Linked DNA regions of Homo sapiens: region 1 is linked to region 2. Evidence: promoter capture Hi-C in human tissues and cell types (Jung and others, 2019). All regions are on one chromosome and are shown on one strand. Each heading gives the region's core, a stretch centred on a gene start or on the middle of the fragment in contact. The rest is flanking DNA. Distances are from core to core; before and after follow the strand shown. Region 1 overlaps UNKL (unk like zinc finger). Region 2 holds the start of IFT140 (intraflagellar transport 140).

Region 1 (5,473 bases), core at 91-2,590, 240 kb after region 2:
GGATGCCCCCTGTGTGGTGAACCTGCTGTCACCCTGACATGGCCACCAAGTCCTGACGAGTCAGCCCTGCCTGGCTCAGCCAGCTCCCTGCTGGGTGGGGTGGGTTGTGGGGAGTGAGGCTGCAGGAGGTCTGCGAGGGCGGGACTCGATGTCGGGTAGGTGGGGCAGTGACCGCCTCTTTGCTTCTGCTGGGCCCCAGCTTGTCTGAACCGAGCACCAGGCAGGGGCTGGCCAGGCTGTGGAGGTTCCCGGCGCGCCGACCCCCACGGTCGGGTCTGACAGGTTTCCCCGGGGTGCGGTTGCCTGGGGCCATGGAGGGACCATCGGTCCCAGGTGAGGACAGGAGGAAGGGGGTCTAGGGCCCTTCAGGGACAGGCAGGGGTGGCTTTGCCTGTCTCAGAGCAGGCCTCAGCAGCACACTGTCCAGTACCAGGCATCAGTGAGGGTCCAAGAACTTGCAGCCAGCAGGGACGACAGGGCAGGGCCCCCCAGGAGAGACCCCACACAGCGCACATGGGAGAGTGGATGCCAAAGGTGGGCAGCGGGGAGGGCGCCTGCGCAACAGTCCCTGTGTGGTGTGCCCCACGCTGCTGAGGTCTCTGTGCGGTGTTGGCCGGCAGTCCCTGTGTGGTGTGCCCCACGCTGCTGAGGTCTCTGTGCGGTGTTGGCCGGCAGTCCCTGTGTGGTGTGCTCCACGCTGCTGAGGTCTCTGTGCGGTGTTGGCCGGCAGTCCCTGTGCGGTGTGCTCCACGCTGCTGAGGTCTCTGTGCGGTGTTGGCCGGCAGTCCCTGTGCGGTGTGCTCCACGCTGCTGAGGTCTCTGTGCGGTGTTGGCCGGCAGTCCCTGTGCGGTGTGCTCCACGCTGCTGAGGTCTCTGTGCGGTGTTGGCCGGCAGTCCCTGTGCGGTGTGTTCCATGCTGCTGAGGTCTCTGTGCGGTGTTGGCCGGCAGTCCCTGTGTGGTGTGCTCCACGCTGCTGAGGTCTCTGTGCGGTGTAGGCCGGCAGTCCCTGTGCGGTGTGCCCCACGCTGCTGAGGTCTCTGTGCGGTGTTGGCCGGCAGTCCCTGTGCGGTGTGCTCCACGCTGCTGAGGTCTCTGTGCGGTGTTGGCCGGCAGTCCCTGTGCGGTGTGCTCCACGCTGCTGAGGTCTCTGTGCGGTGTTGGCCGGCAGTCCCTGTGCGGTGTGCTCCACGCTGCTGAGGTCTCTGTGCGGTGTTGGCCGGCAGTCCCTGTGCGGTGTGCTCCACGCTGCTGAGGTCTCTGTGCGGTGTTGGCCGGCAGTCCCTGTGCGGTGTGCCCCACGCTGCTGAGGTCTCTGTGCGGTGTTGGCCGGCAGTCCCTGTGTGGTGTGCCCCACGCTGCTGAGGTCTCTGTGCGGTGTTGGCCGGCAGTCCCTGTGTGGTGTGCCCCACGCTGCTGAGGTCTCTGTGCGGTGTTGGCCGGCAGTCCCTGTGTGGTGTGCTCCACGCTGCTGAGGTCTCTGTGCGGTGTTGGCCGGCAGTCCCTGTGCGGTGTGCTCCACGCTGCTGAGGTCTCTGTGCGGTGTTGGCCGGCAGTCCCTGTGCGGTGTGTTCCATGCTGCTGAGGTCTCTGTGCGGTGTTGGCCGGCAGTCCCTGTGCGGTGTGTTCCATGCTGCTGAGGTCTCTGTGCGGTGTTGGCCGGCAGTCCCTGTGTGGTGTGTTCCATGCTGCTGAGGTCTCTGTGCGGTGTAGGCCGGCAGTCCCTGTGTGGTGTGCTCCACGCTGCTGAGGTCTCTGCGGTGTTGGCCGGCAGTCCCTGTGTGGTGTGCCCCACGCTGCTGAGGTCTCTGTGCGGTGTTGGCCGGCAGTCCCTGTGTGGTGTGCCCCACGCTGCTGAGGTCTCTGTGCGGTGTTGGCCGGCAGTCCCTGTGTGGTGTGCTCCACGCTGCTGAGGTCTCTGTGCAGTGTAGGCCGGCAGTCCCTGTGCGGTGTGCCCCACGCTGCTGAGGTCTCTGTGCGGTGTTGGCCACAACACTGGGCTGGGCTGGGGAGGCGGCGCCGGCCCACAGGGTGTATCCCAGAGCTCCTGCAGCCGCTGCGGTCCTCTGGTCTGCCCCAGGTGGCACGTGGGCTCTCAGATCCCAGATCCTCTGGTCACCCCTCACCCCCAACCCAACTTCTGTGCAGTGGCTGCGGGAGTTTGAGACACGCTGTGGCTTCAGGGGCTGGTGGCCTGAGCTCAGCCTCCTCATGATGGCTTCCTAATTCTAGGAAGGGGCAGTGGGGTCCCTGCTTGCCATTCGGGGTTGGGGGTGGGGACTTGGGAGGGAAGGGCCCGTGCAGGAGGGCAGCCCCACGGCCTGCAGGGATGTGTGGGGACAGCCTTGGAAGGCAGGGCTGGCTGGGTGAGGCCACTCTGAGGCGGGTCCTTCCCACTCAGTCTTGAGCCTTGGGAATTGAGGTCTTGGTGCTTGGCATGAAATTGCACGTGAACACCTGCTCCTTGAAATCACCCTCACAGAAAGTTTTTTTTTTGTTTTTGTTTTTGTTTTTTTTGAGATGGAATCTTGCTCTGTCGTCCAGGCTGGAGGGCAGTGGCACGATCTCGGCTCACTGCAAGCTCCGCCTCTGGGGTTCACACCATTCTTCCGCCTCAGCCTCCCGAGTAGCTGGGACTACAGGCACCCGCCACCACGCCTGGCTAATTTTTTGTATTTTTTTTTTTTTGGTTGAGACGGGGTTTCACCGTGTTAGCCAGGATGGTCTCGATCTCCTGACCTTGTGATCTGCCCACCTCGGCCTCCCAAAGTGCTGGGATTACAGGTGTGAGCCACCGCACCCGGCCCTGGAAAGTTTTTTAAACAGTCGAATGTGCACACGTGGACAGATGCTAACACACACTTAGGTATTTAAACTCTGAGGGGCAGCAGCAGCGTGTCAGAGGCGAGGACCCAGCTGCTGGTCTGTGGTGCGGGGCGTCCCACCTGAGCACGCTCGTTTTGCCGGAGGAACAGCCAAGCCTCACACTGCCTGTGGGGGGCTGCGAGGACGGGCTGGGGGTGTCCTTCCCTGGCTGCCCCAGCAACTCCCACGCCTTCTGCCCTTGGTCTCACTCTAAGCCCAGGTGGGACGGTCGTCCTCCTCAGCTAGGCTTCCTGAGCTCTGCAGCGCTGGGTGGGCTGTGGATGATGGGGGGCTCTGTTGACAGGTTCTGCGTTAGACCTGCATCTTAGCAATGTGAATATTGCATCCCTAGAGAAGGACCTGGAAGAGCAAGACGGCCACGACCTGGGAGCAGCAGGTGAGGGTGGGGAGGACCTGGGGCCCTGCTCCTCCAGCCGCTGAACAGCCAAGTGCTGTGGCCGGAGGATCGCTTGAGCCCGGGGAGGTCAAGGCTGCAGTGAGCTGAGGTTGCACCACTGCACTCCTGCCTGGACCACAGGGCAAGACCCGGTGTCTGGTTTTCGGAGCGGGAGGATCCCCTTCTGGCGGTACCTCCTCCTCCTCTCCCTGACTGCCTCTCCCTTTCCCTCCCCTGCACATGGACTCCTCAGCATCTCTCCTGCCTCGGGCCTGCCCACTTCTTCAGTTGACCTTTGTCCCAGCAAAGTGGCCGCGCAGAGACAGGCGGGGCCTTTCCTGAAAGTCTTGATGGTCCCCGAAGGATAAATGTATTCACATTGTAGACAAAAGATTGACATCCATACAAATGTATCTTTTTTTTTTTTTTTTTTTTTGAGACAGAGCCTCGCTCTGTCGCCCAGGCTGGAGTGCAGTGGCGCGATCTCCGCTCACTGCAAGCTCCACCTCCCGGGTTCACGCCATTCTCCTGCCTCAGCCTCCGGAGTAGCTGGGACTACAGGTGCCCGCCACCACGCCCAGCTAATTTTTTGTATTTTTAATAGAGACGGGGTTTCACCATGTTAGCCAGGATGGTCTCCATCTCCTGACCCCGTGATCTGCCCGCCTTGGCCTCCCAAAGTGCTGGGATTACAGGCGTGAGCCAGTGCGCCCGGCCCCATACAAATGTATCTTAACATCGTATACAACATCTTTTCATTCAGCCTAAAAGTGTATCTTTTCTTTCTTTTAAAAGAAAGTAAACCATTTCAGGGGGCCTGGACAAGTGCTGGGAGGACCGTGCCAATGGCTTAGTTGGCCGGCAGGGCCTGGTGGGTGTCCGGCCTCTTTGGGGGGGGCCCATGTTAAACCCCCGTCTCCCCACCTCTGGTTGGAATCCCTTTGAGCCCATGGCTTGCCCAGCTGTGTTGGACATGGCCACCGGGGGCGCTGTGGCTCCAAACACATAGATGGTGGTGGCTGGCCTGGCCCCTATATTCCCACCCCCCATATCCCCACCACCACCACCTGCAGGGTCCGTCTTCCACGGCTGCCGCCCATGGCAGATGTTTGGGCAGAGGCCTGGCGGTACTCCCTTCGCTGACTGGTCCGCCCCCGCCAGGTCCCAGGTCGCTGGCCGGCTCTGCACCTGTCGCCATCCCCGGCTCCCTGCCCAGAGCACCATCGCTACACTCGCCATCCTCTGCGTCCACCTCGCCGCTCGGTTCGCTGTCCCAGCCCCTCCCAGGGCCGGTGGGCTCCTCAGCCATGACGCCTCCCCAGCAGCCGCCACCCCTGCGTTCAGAGCCGGGCACACTGGGCTCTGCAGCCTCATCCTACAGCCCCCTAGGTGAGTGCCGGCTCCCTCCATGCTGGCGTTGCCGTGAAGCCTCCGTGGGGCTCCCTCCCAGATGCCGTCCTGACTGAGGGGCCTCACACGGAACCTTGTGCCCTATCTGTGGTGGCAAACCACATGACCTGCTGCTCACAGGTTCCCCCACGCCGCAGACCGAGTCTCGCTCTGTCGCCCAGGTTGGACTGCAATGGTACGATCTCGGCTCGCCGCAACCTCCGCCTCCCAGGTTCAAGCAATTCTCCTGCCTCAGCCACCCAAGTAGCTGGGACTACAGGCGGGCGCCACCACGCCCAGCTAGTTTTTGTATTTTTAGTAGAGATGGCGTTTCATCACGCTGGCCGGGCCGGTCTCAAACTCCTGACCTCGTGATCTGCCTGCCTTGGCTTCCCAAAGTGTGGGATGACAGTGAGCCACCGTGCCCGGCTATTTGTTACGTTGTAAAAGAACTAACACTTGGTCGGGTGCAGTGGCTCACACCTGTAATCCCAGCACTTTGGGAGGCTGAGGCAGGCGGATCACCTGAGATTGGGAGTTCAAGACCAGCCTGACCAACATGGAGAAACCCCATCTCTACTAAAAATACAAAATTAGCCGGGTGTGGTGGTGCATGCCTGTAACCCCAGCTACTGGGGAGGCTGAGGCAGGAGAATTGCTTGAACCTGGGAGGTGGAGTTTGCAGTGAGCTGAGATTGTGCCATTATGCTCCAGCCTGGGCAACAAGAGTGAAACTCCATCTCAAAAAAAAAAAAGAGAAAAAGGCCCGGCGTGGTGGCTCACGCCTGTCATCCCAGCACTTGGGGCGCCGAGGTGGGCGGAT
Region 2 (5,548 bases), core at 2,607-5,106:
CTACCAGGACCATTCACTAAATGTAAACGAGCATTTCCCAAGGAAGGAAGTGAAAGATTTTTTTTTCACGTGAAACTCACTGGAAGCTGATGTTATATTTGCTATTTATACAAAGTGCTGCGAACATGGTCGGAAACAAAAAGAATCAGAGTCATTCACCTGCGTAAGGAAAAGCACAAGACTGAAATAGAAATAAGAGCAGACAACAATGAAGCACTGGCACATGGAGAACGAAACTAACATGCCGTTTTCTTACTATCTTGGTAAGAGACCCCAGCTAAGTAGCAACATTCTCCATCACCTCAGAATACAAGGGCGAACACTACAAGCTGCTGCTTGTTCATGTCAATCGTTTTCACCACTCTTTCCTTTCTTTGGCACAGAAGTAAACCCCAGTTGCAACTCAAAGGGCCCCATCTCTATGCCCTTCCTACTCTCAACCCAGGAGCACTTGAAGGAGAGGACAATGGGTCCAAGTCAGACCCCAAGGATCCTTTCTCCGCTTCTTACCCATCTTCCCCCCAATGAGTTTCAAAAGCCTGCTCCCTTGGTGCATTTCCACCGCCTGATGTCTGGGAAAGAGATACAGCAGGTATTTTTTTCTCTTCCCGTTTCCGAACTATTGTCCGCTGTTTGAAACACAAAACCATAGAAAACCATCAGTGATCCTTTGGAAAGGAAACAGCTTTAAGGGATCTCTTCGACTCCCCCCCAAAAAAGGATACTCACTGCCTCTTCAAAGAGTTTAAATATAGAAAGTCGCAGCCTCTTCGAAGGAGAGAGGGGACACATGCCCCATAAGTGCCACCCAAATTGAGAGCCTCAGTGTAGGCCGCGGGATGGGTGAGCTAGGGTGGAGCCCGGCTGGGGCGAGGGGTTCCTCTCCCCCGCGGCACACCCCGGAGAGGGGCTGGGGTCTCCCAAGGGGACGGGCCGCCCTACCTTTTCCGCGGGGCCCCGAGCCACCGGCGTTGCCGCTCCCCACAGCGCTCGGAGGATCCTTCCTGGGCCTCTTGCTCTGCGGCCGCACGCTGGACCGGAGGAAGTGGTGCTGGTCCTGGGGGCTGCCCTGCGGCGGGGACGGCGCCTGCGGCGCGCCGGGGGGCGCGGGGGGGCCGTCGGCGCCGGCCCGGGGGGTCTTCTCGTCCCTCTTTGTGCCGCTGCTCTCCTCGGCCGCGTCTGCGCCGCCGGCCCCTTCTCCTTCCAGGGACTCCTCATCGGCCGCCCGCTTGCCCAGCTTCTTGAGCCCGTCCTCCCCGCTGCCGCCGTCGCCCAACTTCACTGTCATCCTGCGGCCGGGAGAGGGGAGGCGGCCGGTGAGGCGGGCGCAGGCCGGGAAGTTTAGCGGCCCCGACGCGCTCTCAACATGGCCGCCGTTGTTTGTTCCAAATCCCCTCTCGGCGGCTCGGCCCGGCCCGCCCGAGCCCGCCCGAGCCCGCCGCGGCCCCTGCCGCCCCCACGCCGCCGCCCCCGGCCCTGCCCACCAGCCCGGGACCCTCCCGGGCCTCCCCGGACGCCCCCTGGCCGAGGCTCGCGTCCAGACGCCCGGGCCGGCGGCGGGAGGGCGCGACAGCTCGGCGGACCCTGCCCGGCCCCGGCCCCGGCCCCGGCCCCGGGGTCTATGGGAGCCCCGGCGCGGGCGCGGGTCTGGGCACGGTTGCGGGTCCGGGCCGCTGCCCCGCCCACAGCCACCTACCCGGCGGGGCCGCGGCTCATGGCCTGGCCCTGCGCGCCGGCCTCGCTCCCTGCGCCGCCTCGGCCGGCCGGGCCGCAGCCCCAGCCCTAGCCCCTCGTCCCACCCCCTCCCCGCCCCCCGAAAGGCGCGGGGCTCCCGGGCCCCGCGCACCTGCCCCACGCGCCGGCCCCCAGAGCTGGCCCTGGAGGAGGACAGAGGAGGCCGGATCCACCCCGGGACGGGAGAAGCGCGGGCTCGCCTGCCCGCACGGGGAACTCCATGGTGGCCCAATGCCGCCGGCCCGCCTGCTTATTTTAAAACACACATAAAGAATAATCAGCTCCGGGTCTCTGGGAATCTTCTTCCCAGGGTGGGAAATGTGAGCTGCTGCGGGGATTTACTAGTTAAAAATGCTTTTGCAACAAAGGAGCCTGTTGCATGGAACAGGTTGGAACCACCCGGGAAAGTGACAGCCCAGTTATGTCCGGGTCCAGGTGCAAGAAGCGGTAGAAGACAATGGTGTTAAAACTCTTGGCAACAATTAATAAAATTATTGCATCAACTTTGCTACCCACCGCCCTGTAAAATGTCAACAACAAAGTGCAGTGACTAAAAATGCTGCAGCCCAGAAAGCAGAGCCACTCAAAAATAAACTCAGACAATCAGGTACACAGCAAGAGCTGCAGCCCAGAAACAGTCCGGGACGGGCACGTGTGAGGAAGCAAAAACGCTGAAGATTAGATTCCTCAGCAGATACTGACCCTGCGTTCAACTCAACTGTTGAGAACGGGGGCATTTCCACTTCAAAGGAACACACGATCGAGGCACCAACACCAACCACGAAATACAGGGACGCGGGCGAGGACCTCTCTTTCCGAGAGATCGGGAAATGGCTTCAAAGTCGCAATGATGCCCCCACCCTGAGGTGCAGATCACACAAGGATCCGTGGCCGTTTTCTCCTGTCGGAATTGGTCTAGGGAATCTCGAGTTCATGCTAGTTTTAAAAAAAACTCTGCCAAAGAACAAAACCACCCACGACAAACACCCCAACTTAAGGGATTTCGTGGCAAGACTTCCCACTCTTCCCCCTCAACCCACCTCTTTCCACTCAAGAAACCTAAACCCCCAAAGACCTCGTCTCGGGCTGAGAACCCCGCTGCCCAGGGACCTGTCCGCCCGCAGGCCACCCGGGACCCAAGCAAAACAAACTCGGCCACCAGAGTGAACTCGCCCGCTCGCCGGGCTCCACACCCAAGACGCCGACCGAGCACGGGGAAGCGCTTTTCGCCACTGAAAGGACCGACGCCGTCCAGACTTTACCCTAAGGGCCAACAAGCAGGGGGATGGCCTCCTTTTCGCGAGAACCTCCAACGAGACCGGACTTTTCTCGGAGGCGCAGTCTCCTCCAGCCCCGTCCCGCTCCGCACCGGCTCGCGTCTCGGGATGGGGACGCAGAAGCCTCCTCGCCCTGAGGCCAGTTGTGGCTGTACCGGGCGCTGTGGAAGCGACGCCCCCCCCGCGCTCTCCCGCGCCGCCCGACAGGACCCCCCGGCCGGGCCTCGCCATGACAGCCCCGCCGCCCAGCCTTGGTCACCTTTTTCATCAACGCCGGGCGGCAGCCTGGCTTCCCGGGGCCTCCCCGGGTGCCCGCAGAACCAGCCGGGCCGGGCAGCCCCGGCCCCCGAGCGCCGGCTGCAGGGAGGCCGCAACGCCGGGCTGGTCGTCCGCCTCGGAAGCGACTGGTCGAGCGGCGCTAGCCCCGGCACGTCCCCTCCGCGGGCCGGCGCGCGGCTGCGGGGGCTGCGGACGCAGATACTGCCGCCACTCACCCTAGCGAAGCCGGCCCGCCGCCCTCAGCAGCAGTTCCGGCTACGGCGGCCGGTGGGGACCTCACGGACGGCGCGCGGGGGCGGGGCCGGGGTGCGCGGGCGCGCGGGGCGGGGCGACGAACGCGGGGGCGAGCACCCCCAATGTTTCTTCGGGCCCGTCTCCCCAAAACGGCGCTCCCATTGGCTAGCGCTGGGCGGGCGCGCTCGCACGTACGAGCCCGGTGGGCGTCGGGGGCGAGCCCGCGGCGCCAGTAGTGTTGTGACGCCAGCCTCGCGACCTTGCGGACTGTGCGTCTCTTTGGATTGGTGGACAGACAGCCAATAGGCCAGGGCCCGTGCTGTGATTGGCCGCAGCAGTGTTGACGGATACGTGAGAAGAAAACGGCGTGGTAGCTCGGAGTGTGGAATCGGGCGCGAACCTGAGTTCTGAGAAGTGTGGAAGCACGTCTGAGGCAGTTAAGCGCACCCTTTCCTGGGTGGAGTATGTGCTTCTGCGCTACGTTAGCGTAGCCGAGCGGCGCTGGGCACTTGGTCATTTTCTTCATAGCAAGAAAGCAGAGGGGTGTTTTTCAAATTCCAGTGTTTCTTTCTTTCTTTTTTTTTTTTTTTGAGACGGAGTTTCGCTCTGTCGCCCAGGCTGGAGTGCAGTGGCGCAATCTTGGCTCACTGCAAGCTCCGCCTCCCAGGTTCAAGCGATTCTCCTGCCTCAGCCTCCCGAGTAGTTGGAATTACAGGCGCGCGCCACCATACTCGCTAATTTGTGTGTTTTTAGTACATACGGGGTTTCACCATGTTGGCCAAGCTAGTCTCGAACTCCTGACCTCAAGTGATCCGCTCGTCTCAGCCTCCCAAAGTACTGGGTTTGCAGGCGTGAGCCACCGCGCCCGGCTCAAATTCCAGTGTTTCTTTTTCTTTTCTTTTTTTTTTTTTTTGACTCGCTCTGTCGCCCAGGCTGGAGTGCAGTGGCCCGATCTCGGCTCGCTGCAGTCTCCGCCTCCCGGGGCTCAGGCGATTCTCCTCCCTCAGCCTCCTGTAGCCGAGACTAGAGGCGCCACCGCGCCCGGCTAATTTTTGTAATTTTTTAGAGACAGGATCTCGCCTTGTTGCCAAGGCTGGTCTCGAACTCCTGGGCTCCAACGATCCGCCCGCCCCAGCCCCCAAGAGCTGGAAGCCCAAGCGCGAGCCCCGCGTCCGGCCGCCAGCTGCTTTCTTGGGGGCGCTCCCTGCCTCGCTTGGCTCTGTGGAGTCCGGGGCCCGGCGATGGAACAGGCCCTCAGTCACCCAACACCTCAGGACACTGCCGAGCGCATCGACTTTCCCAGAAACGCTTGACCCACGCCCTCCGCTCCGAAACTAGAAAAGCGGAGCCCAGGGAAGGCCTGGGCCGAGACCGCCGCGTGCTGGAAAGGCTCCGCCTCGGGATGCACGGGAAGGGAACACGCCCAGGAGGGGAGGATGCCGCGGTTGATCGGGGCTGTGACAGCGCGCCCTCCACACAAAGGGGACCCAGACGCCGGCCCTGCGCCGCCGTCTCTCCTAGAAAAAGCTCGTCCCGCTTCTCTCTTGCAGAGCGGAATAACCTGGCCCCCGACGCTCGGGCCTCGGAGCTGCACGTGCGTGCCCGATCGCCTTCGGCTCTTTCCGGCCGCTCGGGGCGCTTCGGGAGTCCTCGGGGCCGCCTCGCTCACCTTCGGCTATTTCCGCGTTCCTGGCGCGCCGTTGTCCCGGCAACGCGCGGCGGCTCAGCGGCCTGGCAGAGGTGAGTGGCCTTAGGGCTAGGGCGGCCGACCCAGGTCCTTAGGAGCCAGGCCGGGGTTTGGGGCCGAGGATGTGACCGGTGGCGGGCGTCGGGACCCTCCCGTCTCCTCCCACGATCCCGGCGCCGCCGAGTCCCCGCGGCCCCTCGCGAGTCCCATCGAGGCTGGGGCGGGCTTGGCGCGGGGTCCAGGTCGCTCGTCGGACTATGGCTGTCGCCCCCGCCCGGCCTCGAATCGCGGCTGATTCCGGTAGCTGGGAGAGTCCCTTTGGAATGGGCGGGGTGGG

What was found. Contacts are between HindIII fragments. The study calls those that stand out against the background at their distance.
Region 1: a contact is called between a fragment that was not itself captured here and the fragment with the promoter of IFT140 in region 2, in 1 of the 25 tissues and cell types used here (dorsolateral prefrontal cortex).

What each region holds. Positions count from the first base shown.
Region 1 is chr16:1,369,307-1,374,779 of GRCh38, reverse strand. It overlaps UNKL (unk like zinc finger), which reads left to right. Exons shown (of 15, transcript NM_001372107.1): 11 at 3,169-3,261; 12 at 4,423-4,650. It also overlaps the pseudogene TJP1P1. Among named protein-coding and RNA genes, the nearest start is that of GNPTG, 20 kb to the right of the region's middle. The HindIII fragment of the contact is 5,493 bases long and covers 1-4,086 here.
Region 2 is chr16:1,610,380-1,615,927 of GRCh38, reverse strand. IFT140 (intraflagellar transport 140) reads left to right here and starts at 3,856. Exons shown (of 31, transcript NM_014714.4): 1 at 3,856-3,960; 2 at 5,075-5,264. It overlaps CRAMP1 (cramped chromatin regulator 1), which reads right to left and starts at 3,568. Exons shown (of 21, transcript NM_020825.4): 1 at 3,271-3,568; 2 at 943-1,289. The coding sequence starts at 1,288. RefSeq lists enhancers at 2,672-3,172, 3,173-3,673, 4,062-4,121 and silencers at 3,052-3,211, 3,242-3,361, 3,382-3,911, 5,150-5,529. The HindIII fragment of the contact is 16,182 bases long and covers 1-5,548 here.